3 separate regions of the Homo sapiens genome follow, and all the other regions are linked to region 1. The links are contacts of gene promoters, found by promoter capture Hi-C in human tissues and cell types (Jung and others, 2019). All regions are on one chromosome and are shown on one strand. The core of a region is centred on a gene start or on the middle of the fragment in contact, and the rest is flanking DNA. Distances in the headings are between cores, read along the strand shown.

Evidence for each region. The method cuts DNA at HindIII sites, captures the fragments that hold promoters and counts their contacts. A contact is called where the count stands out against the background at its distance.
Region 2: a fragment that was not itself captured here is called in contact with the fragment with the promoter of EYA4 in region 1 in 4 of the 25 tissues and cell types used here (H1 embryonic stem cells, dorsolateral prefrontal cortex, liver and 1 more).
Region 3: a contact is called between a fragment that was not itself captured here and the fragment with the promoter of EYA4 in region 1, in 1 of the 25 tissues and cell types used here (aorta).

The regions. Positions count from the first base shown.
Region 1 is chr6:133,238,788-133,243,063 of GRCh38, forward strand. EYA4 (EYA transcriptional coactivator and phosphatase 4) reads left to right here and starts at 2,570. Exons shown (of 20, transcript NM_004100.5): 1 at 2,570-2,962. It overlaps LOC124901231 (serine/arginine repetitive matrix protein 1-like), which reads right to left. Exons shown (of 3, transcript XM_047419612.1): 2 at 3,432-3,624; 3 at 1,533-2,869. The coding sequence ends at 1,999. RefSeq lists enhancers at 2,913-3,807, 3,808-4,276. The HindIII fragment of the contact is 6,618 bases long and covers 1-4,276 here.
Region 2 is chr6:133,480,818-133,485,093 of GRCh38, forward strand. It overlaps EYA4 (EYA transcriptional coactivator and phosphatase 4), which reads left to right. Exons shown (of 20, transcript NM_004100.5): 12 at 646-782; 13 at 2,215-2,298. Among named protein-coding and RNA genes, the nearest start is that of EYA4-AS2, 26 kb to the left of the region's middle. RefSeq lists a silencer at 624-797. The HindIII fragment of the contact is 3,772 bases long and covers 562-4,276 here.
Region 3 is chr6:133,375,165-133,379,440 of GRCh38, forward strand. The region is part of intron 2 of EYA4 (EYA transcriptional coactivator and phosphatase 4); the gene reads left to right. Among named protein-coding and RNA genes, the nearest start is that of EYA4-AS2, 79 kb to the right of the region's middle. The HindIII fragment of the contact is 3,623 bases long and covers 1-3,510 here.

The DNA of each region.
Region 1 (4,276 bases), core at 1,320-3,819:
AATGTAAATGCTGGAAATAAGGCCTCATTTAAGCAAACAATACATTTTTGCCTTTATAACCCTAAAATTCTGTTTCCTATGTTAAACTTATTTCAAATGTGTACTGAAAATTGACGTTTTATCTGACACCTAGTGGTGTCCATGTTAATATATGTATATTTAAGACAACTATTAGAAGGTAGTAATATGAAGTCAAATAACTAATATATTATCCTGGATTTTAAAAATAATTTCTGTACATGTATTCTTATCTAGATGTACAAAAAACTATGCAGGAGCAAAGTGACCTTGAAAGCAAGGTCAGTGTAACTGAAAAATCTGACTTTAGAAGGGTACAAAGAAACATGCTAAGAAAACCCACCCTATATTTATGTTAACAATATGCTAAAGTATGAATTTTTATTTTATTCAAATCATACATCTCCCACCTTTATTTGTAGGTGAAACTAGCACATAATGTTTTATGCCAAAATGAAATTCAAAATGTTGTTGCCTTTTGAGGACAGTATTAAATTCATCATTGTACTTAATCCTTACATGATATTTGCTATAGCCACAGAACATTCTTAGACACTATGATTCACAAAACATTTAAATTGCATATTTGGCTTGTAATATATTACATATTTAAAAGAATTACTATTTTTCTGAATACCATTAATACTAATAATAGCATCACAGTGACTAAGAGTGGACTTAAATAAAGGCTGGCTTGAAACTCAGGTCTGCCATTTATTAGCAAGCTTCTAAAAATTCTGAGCCCTTAGTTTTCTCACATGTGAAATGGAGAAAATAAATCTGCAAAATTAATTAAATCTGTCCATTCATATTTTTCTCTCCAGTGTATATTAACTGGCATTCCTCGTTAGGCCAGAATGTGCTCTCAACCATGCTCCAAATCCGCTTTGTGCCAACCCCACTGCCAGAACCCTTTCTACCTTGAGAACCAGAAAAGGAAACATTATGCCTGGCAATGCCTACACCCTCCAAAATAAATCTGCAGGAAAGAACACCCAGTAAGTGATGAGAGCAGCAACGACTGCCTTTATCATTTTAAATTTACAACACCACCTTTTCTAGAGCCTCTTAAGCATTGTAGATAATTCCCCACTCATTAAAAAATAAATTGTAACCATAAGTATTCAGGGTTGATACTGCTTTTGAATTAGACAGTGCTCATATCAGTTGCATAAGACCAACCTAAAGTAGAGGATGAAATCTTTTTTCTGAACCTTTTTCAGAACGTAACTTAGTGAATATATTAAAACTAAACTTTCTTTGAATGGGAGTAATTTCTACGGATTAATCTGTAATCTCTTAGACCACACCTAAGGTAATGTAGAGGTTGTTGTATCATAGGCTTTGTGATTAGAGACCACTGGATTTGTCTTTGGAAAAGTCACTCATGATTCTTTGGGCTTTGGTTTCCTCATCTTTTATACCGGCTTAATAATGACCACCGTAGAGTTGTCATGGAAGTTAAATGAACTCATGTACCATAAGTGACCAATACAATGATTGACACTCAGTGATTTATCAATAAATTAAAACATTTATTATCAATATGACAGAGAAGGTGCCGCTAAAATAGACAATAGGTTTTTGGAAGAGGTGATTAAATGGATGCAAAATTTATGGATTGTTTATTCCGTCTACCTTTGCTGTGTCCCCTGGTTGTGGCATACACACGTGTGGGTATAAAATCGTAAATCCTATGTAGTCGCGTAGTGCATGCGCAGAAGGCTTAGACACGAAATGTCATTTCAGCAATGTGCCTAGAGAAGCTCTGACGCCGCCTTGGAAGTAAGTCGTTGCTGCCTGACCTTTGGGCGTCTGGGACGGATGCCTATACCTGCACCCAGCAGCACTGGAAGGGGCCCAGGCCCTTCGCAGCACAGCCTATCCCCAGACCGCTTAGTCCTTCATAACATATATCTCCACGGAAAAGGGTATTTCCTCCCGTCAGAAAAAGCGCCCCAGTCTGGTCTGGGTTGGTTTTTATTTCACGTTGTTGCAAGTAGGCGAAGTCCCTTCTGTCTCCTCCCTTGGGGTAAGTGGAAAGGAGTCCGGCAGGGGGCCCGCAGTGGCCTGCACAGGGGAACTGGGTAGCGAGAGAGTTCCAGGCAATTCCGGGGGCTGCCCCACAGAAGCAGGTGGGGATCGACAGTGGCTCTCCGGCCCAGGGAGGAGAGCGCGGTCGCGGGTCCCTCCCCTCAGCCTGGAGGCTGCAGCCGCTCGAGTCGGCCCGGGTGGGGGCGGGGTGGGGGCGGCGCGGAGGGCACGGAGATTACGGCGGCGCCACCCGGGACATCCAGGGCCCCGAGGCCCTGGGCGGTCCCCACGCGAGATCGCAAACCATGACAATAGGCAGTCACCCGAGGTCAAATAAAAACGGAGTGGGTCCCCCGCGCGCCGCCGCCCCCCGCGTCCCTGGCGGCCTCCCCCGAGGCCCCCGGCGGCCTCACGAGCCCGCAGTAGCCGGTGGCGACGTCGCCCCCGCCCCACCTCCCTGCGCAAGTGCGAGGCTGCCGGCAGCGCGGCGCACGCTCCGGCCGTTCCCGGCTTCCGCGCAAAACTTCCATCCTGTCCACGTGAAGTTGTCGCTGCCTTAGAGAGGGGGAAAGAGCTGCGGGAAAAGCCGGGGAGTGACGACTGCGGCGGCTGGGCGCGCTCTCTCATTTTCTTTTCTTCTCCTTTCCCCCCTGTCGCAGTCCGGAGTTTTGGCTCCTCTCCTTTCCTCCTCCCCCTCGGAGCCGGCTTCTCCCTCCGCCCCGCTTCTCCCCCGCTTGTGTACGCTATTTGTTGTGGGGTGGCCGAAGGGGATGTCCTGTTTTCACCAGAGGCACAGCGCGAAGGGGAAACTTCGACACTGGAAGGAACGAGAATAAATACTTAATTACGGACGCACTGAACCGCGGCTGGGACAGACACTTCGGGAACCCGAGGCGGACCGGGCGACGAGGTGAGTGACCCCTTCTTCCAACCCCCGCCCCAGGGCTCCCGGGGGAGCCTGAGTTGAGAGAACCCCCAAACTTTCCGGGAAAGTGCGCGAGGCTCCGCCGGGGACGCCGAGCGCTGGGTACTGAGGACGCGCAGCTGGACGGTGCGTGGGCGCCTGCGTCCCCGGGGGGCGCTTGGAGGCCGGGTGCCCCACGCCTGAGGGCCCGGGCCGCTCGGACCGCAGCGGTGCTCTCTGCCCTAGAAGACGTCCCCAAGCCCCAAGGGTCCCTTCCGAGCCTGCCTGTCCCTTCCGGGGTCGGCGCGGAGCCTGCGCGTAACGGAGTTCATCCAGCAGTCCAGCGCGCGGCTTCTACCTGCACCCCGCCTCCACCTGGCAGAGGCGCGAGCATCGGGGTCTCCCCCACATCTTTCTTATGACGTGTATTACTTTCTGATGACCCCCTAGATGGTCCAGGCGCGAGGATGCTGACCCAGAGTCCTTCGGAGGGTCACAGGCGCCTGGGCTTTCCCGGTGCCGGGTGCGTGTGTACTTTAAAGGCTCGCGTTCTAATCTCCAGGCACTGATCGGGCTTTTCAACTGCGGCGATCCCACTTTAATAGTTTTTATGTGGCGTGGACTGAATGTCTCCTGCAGTTTGCCAGGGTCGGTGAAATTAGAGGCGCCTTGTCAGAGCAGTCGCGTTCATTGGCTCGAGTAGCGGGTGCCATGGAAGGCTTATAACTTCTCCAAAGGAAGGGACCTGGCTGGGTAGAGCAGGTTTTTCTCTCCTTCCAAGCCTGCTGGGTCTGGGGAGGCAGTGGAACTTGAAATGGCTCGGATTTTTAGCGTGGTGAAGCGAGGTTTGGAAGTAGACGTGTGTGTGCTTGTTTTATTCTGCGCCGCACAGCAACCCGAACTTTCGTTTGGTAGCACTTGAAAGAGTTTTCTCCCTTTGTTTGCGAGATTCTGAACAGCTCGGAGCGATTAGGGAATTTGCGGACCGAGTCCGGTGGCAGAGCTGGGGCGAAAGCAGAGAGCGCAATTTAATTTTTGTCATCTCTTCCCTGCTTGGGAGGATAGTGTTTCCCTTCACCACCACCCCTCTTTCTCCTTCCTATGAAGACAACGGATTTGCGCCTGGGGTGAGAGTGTGTGCGGGAGAGTGGTGTGGAGACTGTCCTCTCTCACCGCGTCTCCTGCGCCTCTCCCCGCCATCCCGAGCGGGCCTAGAGAGTCATTCATGAATCTTAACCTGAGGGCAGGGGAGGAAGGTGCAGGTCCCTCTGCCCTTTCTGCCAAGGTGCAGAATAGCGCCCGGGCGTGTGTTTTGGTTCC
Region 2 (4,276 bases), core at 1,198-3,697, 240 kb after region 1:
AGTATGCACTATTCTAAGAAGTTTTATGTAAAAGAGAAAATGGAAGCAAATAGTATCTAGATGGAAATTCCAGGTCAGAGGGAAGGACTTTTTAACTTCTCAGTGACCCCAAGAAATGGGAGAGGTGGAAGGGAAAATGGGAGAGGTGGAAGGGAAGATGGGAGAGGTGGAAGGGAAGATGGGAGAGGTGGAAGGGAAGATGAGAGAGGTGGAAGGGAAGATGAGAGAGGGTTTGACTAATGAAGCATGACTTCCTAGGAGGTGGGGCTGGGAGTCAGGTTTGCAGGTGGAGGGATGGAATTGATCCAGAAGAAGACATCTCATTCTCTGAACTGTGACAAAAAAGGAGGTGAGGACATATCTAAATGGAGATAAATATGTAAGTGAAGGTATAGACAGGAAGTTGAAGGCGTATGGTGTAGAAAAGACATTCAAGTTTAATAGATCACATAGATTACAACTAGTAGGAGTTTGTGTAAACTACAAAAGTTCTGACTGACTTGTGTGTGCTTGGGATTATAAATCTCTTTTTTGCCATCAGGAGGTTTCTATTGTATAGGAATTTGTTAAGATAATTAATAATGAAGACTCATACTTGATCTAAAAATGAAGTGCTATTCTTGACCTAAGTCATGTTATCTATAGGAGAGTTCGATACCATGCAGAGTCCCTCCACACCCATCAAAGATCTTGATGAGAGAACCTGTAGGAGTTCTGGGTCAAAGTCCAGAGGAAGAGGCCGGAAAAATAATCCCTCCCCGCCTCCTGATAGTGACCTGGAGGTATGCCTACTCATTCTTAAAGATTGTAGTGTGATGCTTTATTTTACCGAATGATACATTCTCTATCTTACAGTTCCATTATGTTTCAAATTTAAAAATCAAGATATATCATGAATTGAATGGAACTACTTTGTGATAGGCATTTTACAACTCTGAAGTTTGAGATTCCATCCATTATAATATTAAAATTAAGAACAAATAACAGTATAAAAATGATCTTGATTTACAGATTATTGGCCTGAGATAATTGCAAGTTTTGATCTAAATTGGCACCGACAAATTTTAAAACTATAGCCATTGTTTGTGGGATACTTTTCTATGTAGCACTGTATTCGATAGCACTAAAGTAATGGAAGATGTCCAAATGGGTCATTAAGTTTAAAAAGATGAAAGTAATTTGTATAGAAAGAAAAATTCATCTTCTAAAAATAGGACAAGTTTCAATCACTTAATAGTATGTGTTAAAATCTGAAAATTTCATTATATGTCACTTTCTATTTATGAGTTCTTTTGAGATATATCTGTACTAAGCAGGGTTGATTTTTATATACAACATCAGTAGAAACTATTCTTAACCATAATATGTTACTTCTTACATACCACATACTTCGGTTAAGAAAAAAATTGAACTTCCAGATTTAGTAAAATCAAGTGACAGACGTTGTGATTCTTTATAAGAGATAACTTCCTTTTCTTGAACAACAGCAACAAGTTCACATTGCCTCAAGAACTTGACAGATGATATAAATGAGTGACCGGGCTGAGTTGCCCAGCAGACTGTGAGGAGCTCAGAGTGCAGGCCCATTCTGAGGGACCTGCCTGTCACTGCCATGTAGGAATGGCAGCCAGCCTGGCCACAACTTCTAGTTGCTGTGCTACAGTCAAAACCCTGAAGTTTGTGGGCAATTGCCTAGTTCTCAAATGTTAATTCATAATTTGAAATCCTTCAAAACTCCAGGGAGGCCAACATATCTGCTGGCCTAATGTGACCCCAGGATCTATACTTGACAATTCTGTTTAGCGGTTACTCATTGATTCTTTTAAATATTTCTTTAAAATCTAATTCTTTGCAGAAATTGTAAAAGTTTATGAATCCCTAAGGTATAAAACTTTAAAATATGTAGAGTTTCAAGCATGCTTCTATCATAAAGTCTGAATGTATCTCTTTTTGGTGTTAACTACGAGTAAATGTATGGATTAATTTATTCAAGCGAGGACATCTGACTCTTAAGCTTATAATTTGTATAATTCCTGCTCCTCAGGCTTTATAGGAGTTAGATTTGGCAAATTTGAAAAACAAAAAAATGAATAGTATTATTTTCTATTAAATGATATCAAGATGATCTCTAGGAAGGGAGACATTTTCTGCTTGTAAAGAGATTTCTGTTTCCTTGGACTTTTTAATTTTCTGATATTTATTTTTTGTCTTCAGCGTGTGTTTGTCTGGGATTTGGATGAAACCATCATTGTTTTTCACTCACTGCTCACCGGGTCTTATGCACAGAAGTATGGCAAGGTAAGAAATCAAGAAATGTTACTCCAAGAAATCTTGTTAAATTTTTTGTGTTTGTTTAAAATCAAGGGCTATTTAAAAATTCTTTTAAGTGTTTTTTTATTGCAGTCTGTGAAATCTTCTCTTAATTATCTATTTCTAGTGTCTTATAGTTCTTTAATATGAACTGGCAAATTTAACAAAGCTAATTATAAATTGAATTCCTTGCTATTTCTTCAAAAGGACTGAGTTTTCTACATCAAGACCAAGCTTCTTAGTCTCACATAATTATTTTAGAAAAAAAATTGTAAATCGAAATGGACTTCAAAACATTATAAAATCATATATTATCCCCAATAAAAGAGCTTTAAGAAATTGTTTAAATTAATTTGTTGCAATTTTATAGCAATAGCGAGTAATCTTTCGTCTGACAGATCTTTTGGATTTATGAATGAGTGTTTTTTCTGTGACTTGAGTACACATATGAACAGCAACCGAGGTAACACCCCCTCCCATACACAAAGTCAGCAATAGATGGTCTCATGCCTCACCTGCCTTTCTCTCTTGCTATTGTTTTTATTTTCTCTTTTATTTATTTATTTCATTGTTATTATTATTATTATTATTATTATTATTATTATTATTATTTTGAGACAAAGTCTCACTCTGTCCCCCAGGCTAGAGTGCAGTGACATGATCTTGGCTCACTGCAACCTCTGCTTCCCGTGCTCAAATGATCCACCTGCCTCAGCCTCTCGAGTAGCTGGGATCACAGGTGCCCGCCACCATGCCTGGCTAATTTTTGTATTTTTAGTAGAGACGGGGTTTCACCATGTTGGCCAGGCTGGTCTCGAACTCCTGACCTCAAGTGATCTGCCTGCCCCTCGGCCTCCAAAGTGCTGGGATTACAGGCGTGAGCCACCACACCCAGCAGTTATTTTTATAGTTAGCTTCTTATAACATCATTATTACAAACCTCTGTGAGTGCTTCTCCGAAGACTGATGCAACTCTGAAAGGCTTTTTGGCTAGAAACACAGCTGTTTAGGCAATAACTGTTTAAGTCTTAGACTCTGTAGGGCTCATAATCAAACTAAAGCCAACTCAGAACATGTTGGCTTACTGTCAGTTACTATACTCAAAGTTGTATCTTTGGTTCCTTTACATATCACGCTTACAGAAATGTCTTCCTATGTCTTCATAGCATTCCATTATTTTATAATATCTCATGCTCATGCAGTTTTTAGCTTTGTCTATATTAAGCTATATTAAGCTTTGTCTTCTGACAAGTAATGATAAAATTGCGTTGAAGTCTAGTCTTCCTAAATTACACTTTGGGTGAATCTGCATTGTCATTTGGTTTTAGTATAGGTAATGAGGTAATGGATATTTCTAAACAGATGTGAAGGTAATAATTTTGTTTAACAACCATTTACAAGAAGTGTTAGCCCCTTTATCACAAAAGTAAAGTAAATTATACAGAAATTTGGAGTACACACTCAATATCCTACTACTGATTAAGTGTGCAATATAAAAAGTTTCCAGACTATAATCTGAAGAATTTATTCTAAGTAGTATTGGCTTATCAGAAGTACACAGTAAATCCTGTTGAGCTGATTGCAATATTTTTGTGCAGCTAAGTTTCATATTAGGTAAGTGTTTAAAATAAACAATCTAATAAGCAGACTGGCCCAAATAAAGATCCCTTCAAAATAGTCACCATGAGGTGTTACACCTAAATATCCATGTTGCCCCCATTGTGCCAAATCAGTGGTAGAACTCATCTTTTGGAATTATCATTAGCCTTTTAACATATTTCCTGGCTTCACATCTTTATCCTTTTGTGGTCATTTTGATCTTTCTTTAAAAATAGAAAGATCATTCGGACCCAAGGCGGTGAATAAGGAGCATGGTAAAACTGTCACTGTATATATTTGTTTTATTTTTGTCAAAAATACCATAGAGTAATGAAGCTGCCTTTCTCAATTTACTCATAAACTGGCT
Region 3 (4,276 bases), core at 449-2,948, 140 kb after region 1:
CAAGTTTATATCCCTATGGGCCTAGCAGTACACCAATCCTATGAAGATCTTCACAACATAAATCATATTTACTTGGATCCAAAAATAATCATAGGTTATCACAGTAAAGTGTACATCTTATGGGAAGTCCTTGAGTGGTATTAACTTTTAAATATTATATTTAGGATATGAGTATATATTTTCTTTCACACCTGTACGTAAGTAAACTTTGGAATAATTTTTAGTAAAAGCTTATATTGTAAAAATTGTTTATGTTTTGCCTATTTCATTTATTACATTAGGACTCAATTTTTAAGTTAATACCTACTTTTACATTTTTTTATGTTCCTTCATACATTCCTGAGGTATGTAATAGGAAAGGACATATGTAATAGGAAAGGATATATTTTAATTCATATGTATTAAATGCTGCTAACTAGAAACCAGGATAATCTAGGGCAGCCCATTAAACCCTGTATCAGTCGGTTATCAATTTTTAAAAAAATTAATGTGATAAGGGCCAGTCAATTGAGATGCATTAAATAAGAACATGACAGCTATTCCTGGAATAAAGCTGGAATAATTATTTAAAATACTTTTAAATTACATTATTTAATTTAAAATTCAAATATGGATAACTTGTAAGTATTAGAAAATATGAAAAATGTCACATAGCCATGGACATTTCAAGAAGTCTTTTATTTTCGCTAAATTAGAAGCCAAAGGTAACTAAAGTTAGATACCATTCTGCTTAATCAGGCAATAATTTACAACAATTTTATTCAACCCAGTCATAAAATTCATTTCATAAAGTATGCATTCATATAAGACTCTAGGCATTGATATACTACAGTTTTTTGAAATAAATATCACTTATTCAGTCAGATTCACATCTTAGAGTATTCACATTAGAAATGCCAACAAAGCCGACAAGTCTAAATTGTTGTTCACAGTAATTCTGTATCGTTTTCTATGTTTACAAAGAGTTTGGCATGCAATAATCTGTAATATAATCTCCATTTTTGGAAAAAAATATTTTTCTATCTGCTTATCCATGTTTTCCTTAAGCAATAGTGCATTTAATCTCATTTACATTATATTTTATATTTTCTACACAGTTCAGTGAAGAAGTAGTCTTACCATCCATAAGAATATATATTAATAAATTATTTATTACATAAACTTTCATTTGTGAAATTTTAATCTCGAATTTATAGTTGCTGAATCCACCTTTTGTTTTCAGTGTATAGTATGTCCTAAGACTCAATTATTAATGCTCATTTCAAAACAAAATGAAGTTCCAAAAGAGATCTTTTGAAAATGTCTTCTTACATTATTCTATTCTTTACATTTTTTATTCCCATTAATGTTTCACGATTTGTAATCAGAACTATTCACTAGAAGATAATTGGGATAATTGAGCCCAGCTATTTTGGAAGATGCTAGATATAATAAAAGAACCTTGCTCTTATTTGCAAACTTTTTTTATGAGTTAATTCTCCTCAAAAGATTGTGAGCTTCTCAAAGCACCTAGTGGTTTGGAAACATTAAAAAAATTAAGATTGATTTTTATATATGAATGTAATAGTCATAATTCCAAAGAGTCCAGAAATTATGGTATTTTCTACATATATTTTCCAGATATTGAAAGTATTAATTATTCTCAATACCAAATCACACATTCTTTATTTTAAAGTATACTTTATGTTACTTACGTAAATACAACCTAAAAAGCTTGAGGGGTGAATAGTATTGTGAAATAAGAGATGCATAGTGTTGTGTAATAAGAGAAATGACATTTAAAAATAATTGTGTGACTAATGTAATAATATTGACCAGTCCTCTCTACTCCTTTATTCTGCTTTATTTTCATCTCAGCACTTAACCACTGCTGGCATTGTATTGTTCATTTACCAGTTTACTTATTTCTTGTATGTCTCCTCCACTAGAGGAGGAGGTGTTTGTTGGGCAGACAGGTGTTTGTTGGTCTAGGTGAGTGCTGTTCAGTAGAAAAATGATACAAATCCTATGCGTATTTTAAATTTTCTAGTAGTCACACTTGAAAAGTAAGAATCAACAGGAGAAATTATTTTATTTAACACAGTATACCCAAAATATCATTTTACTCTCAATATCAAAAATACTAAGATATTCTACTTCCTCTTTTTCATAGTAAGACTTTGAAATCTGGTGTGCTTTTTACACTAACAGCACATCTCCGTTCAATTCAGCCACATTTCAAGCTCTAAATAGCCACGTGTGGTTAGTGGCTCCTGTGTCAAACTGCTTACGTCTAGTTCATCTCTGTGGCTGGAACACTGCCTCGGATATCTCAGGCATTCAGTAAAGCCTTGCTGAATGAGCAAATCTTGATATTTTGGACAGAAAAAGAAACAACGCAGAAGTTGTTTTTCACATTAGTTTTTTTTTTTTTTTTTTTTTGGCTGTTTTTGGGGTGGTGGCGGAGGTGGATGCTAGAGATATCTGGATAATTTTTTCAAAACTACTATTTATTTTGCTTACATGGAGTTTAAATGTTACTAGTGCTTGGTAAAAACTGGTTACTTCAGTAGTCTAGTTTAAAGGATTCCTTTAATGACTGATGTATTATAAAAGTAACTAGTAGGTTCTTCTTTGAAAATTGTTCCACAGAACTTTAATTTCCACTCTTAGTTTTAAATGGGAGATATTAGTCAAGGGTACAAAGTTTTACTTATGCAAGGTGGGTCGTTCCCAGAAATCCACTGTACAGAACAGTGCCTATAGCAACAATATAGGCACTAATATTGTATACTTTAAAATTCACTAAGAGAGTAGATTTATATTATGTTCACACACACACACACACACAATTTGGGAGGAAATTTTTGGAAGTGATGGATATGTTCACAGCATAGATTACAGTGGTAGTTTCACAGGTGCATTCTTATCTCAAACTCATCAAGTTGTATACATTAAATAGGTGTACCTTTTTGTATATCAATCATACCTCAATAAAGTGAGATTTTAAAAAGAAAGGAAAGTAAACTAATGAACACAACTGGCAAATGTAGCATAGGAGAGAATGAAAGGCTTGATGTGTGGCCTTAAGTTGTAATTCCAGCCTTGCTAGTGTTAGCTGTGGGATATTAGGCAAGTTGTTGAACCTCTTTGCACATTAGTTTTCTAGTTCATAAGAGGAGGATTTTATTAATCATACCTGTCTACATGCATTAAATGAGATTATATATATACATAGTCTAGCAGAGTGAGTGGAAAAGAATATTTGCTTAATAAATGGCAGTAATTATTATTGTTATGTAATTGAAGTCAAATTTTAAATATTAAGACGTTTTGATCTTCATTTTGAACATTTTTAATTCATATGTTTATGAATTTTAGGTTCTTCATAGGTTCTGGTTAAAATGCCTTCATAGATCTGGAGTTGAAATTTGCTACATAACTTGCTTTCAGGTTGTTTCTGCTTCTCAGTGTTACTATATGGGAACTGGGAAGAAAATTGTATATATCTAAGCACTGTGCCTGGCATGTGGAAAACACTCAAAAATTTTAGCTGTTATTCACCCATTCCTTCATCTCAAAAATTTAGAATTTTGATATTTATGTTTTCATTGAATACTAATAGTTGCTTTTCTTAAAATAGTTAAATATTTAACTCTTTTTCATGGTGCTTGGAATTTTCCTGTATTTTTATAATTTCTCTGAAGAGATATTGCATAGGTTAAAGTTCACTTTATTTGCAGCAAGTTGCATTCATTTACGCTATTCATCCTTTCTGTCTTGGTGTGTGTGTGTGTGTGTGTGTGTGTGTGTGTGTGTATTTCTATGGAAAAATTTTCAACATTTATTTTTTTATTTATTGGCCCACCCCCTTGTGTGTCTTGTGAAAACTAGGATTTGAATTTAACTTTTTGGCATGAAATTCTGACTCATTTCTTGACCTGCTTGTTTTCCACTTCATTCAAAACACATTCAGAAGTAAGCCTGGGGTGATGGTGCATACCTGTAGACCCAGTTACGTGGAAGGCTGAGACAGGAGGATGGCTTACACTAGGGAGTTTGAGACTGTAGTGCACCATGATTGCACCTATGAATAGCCACTGCACTCCTGCCTAAATGATAGTCATTGAAGGTTCTATATGTTTTATAAGAATATTCTTTCTTATATAGCATATATGGGTCAGCACTTGCCATTTAATGAAGTCTCAAATGGAAGAGTGTGTTCAAATTAGGTAAAACTATCCATTTGCCTCTACTTCTTTGATCAAAACCCTAGAAATATTTTTCTTGATGATTC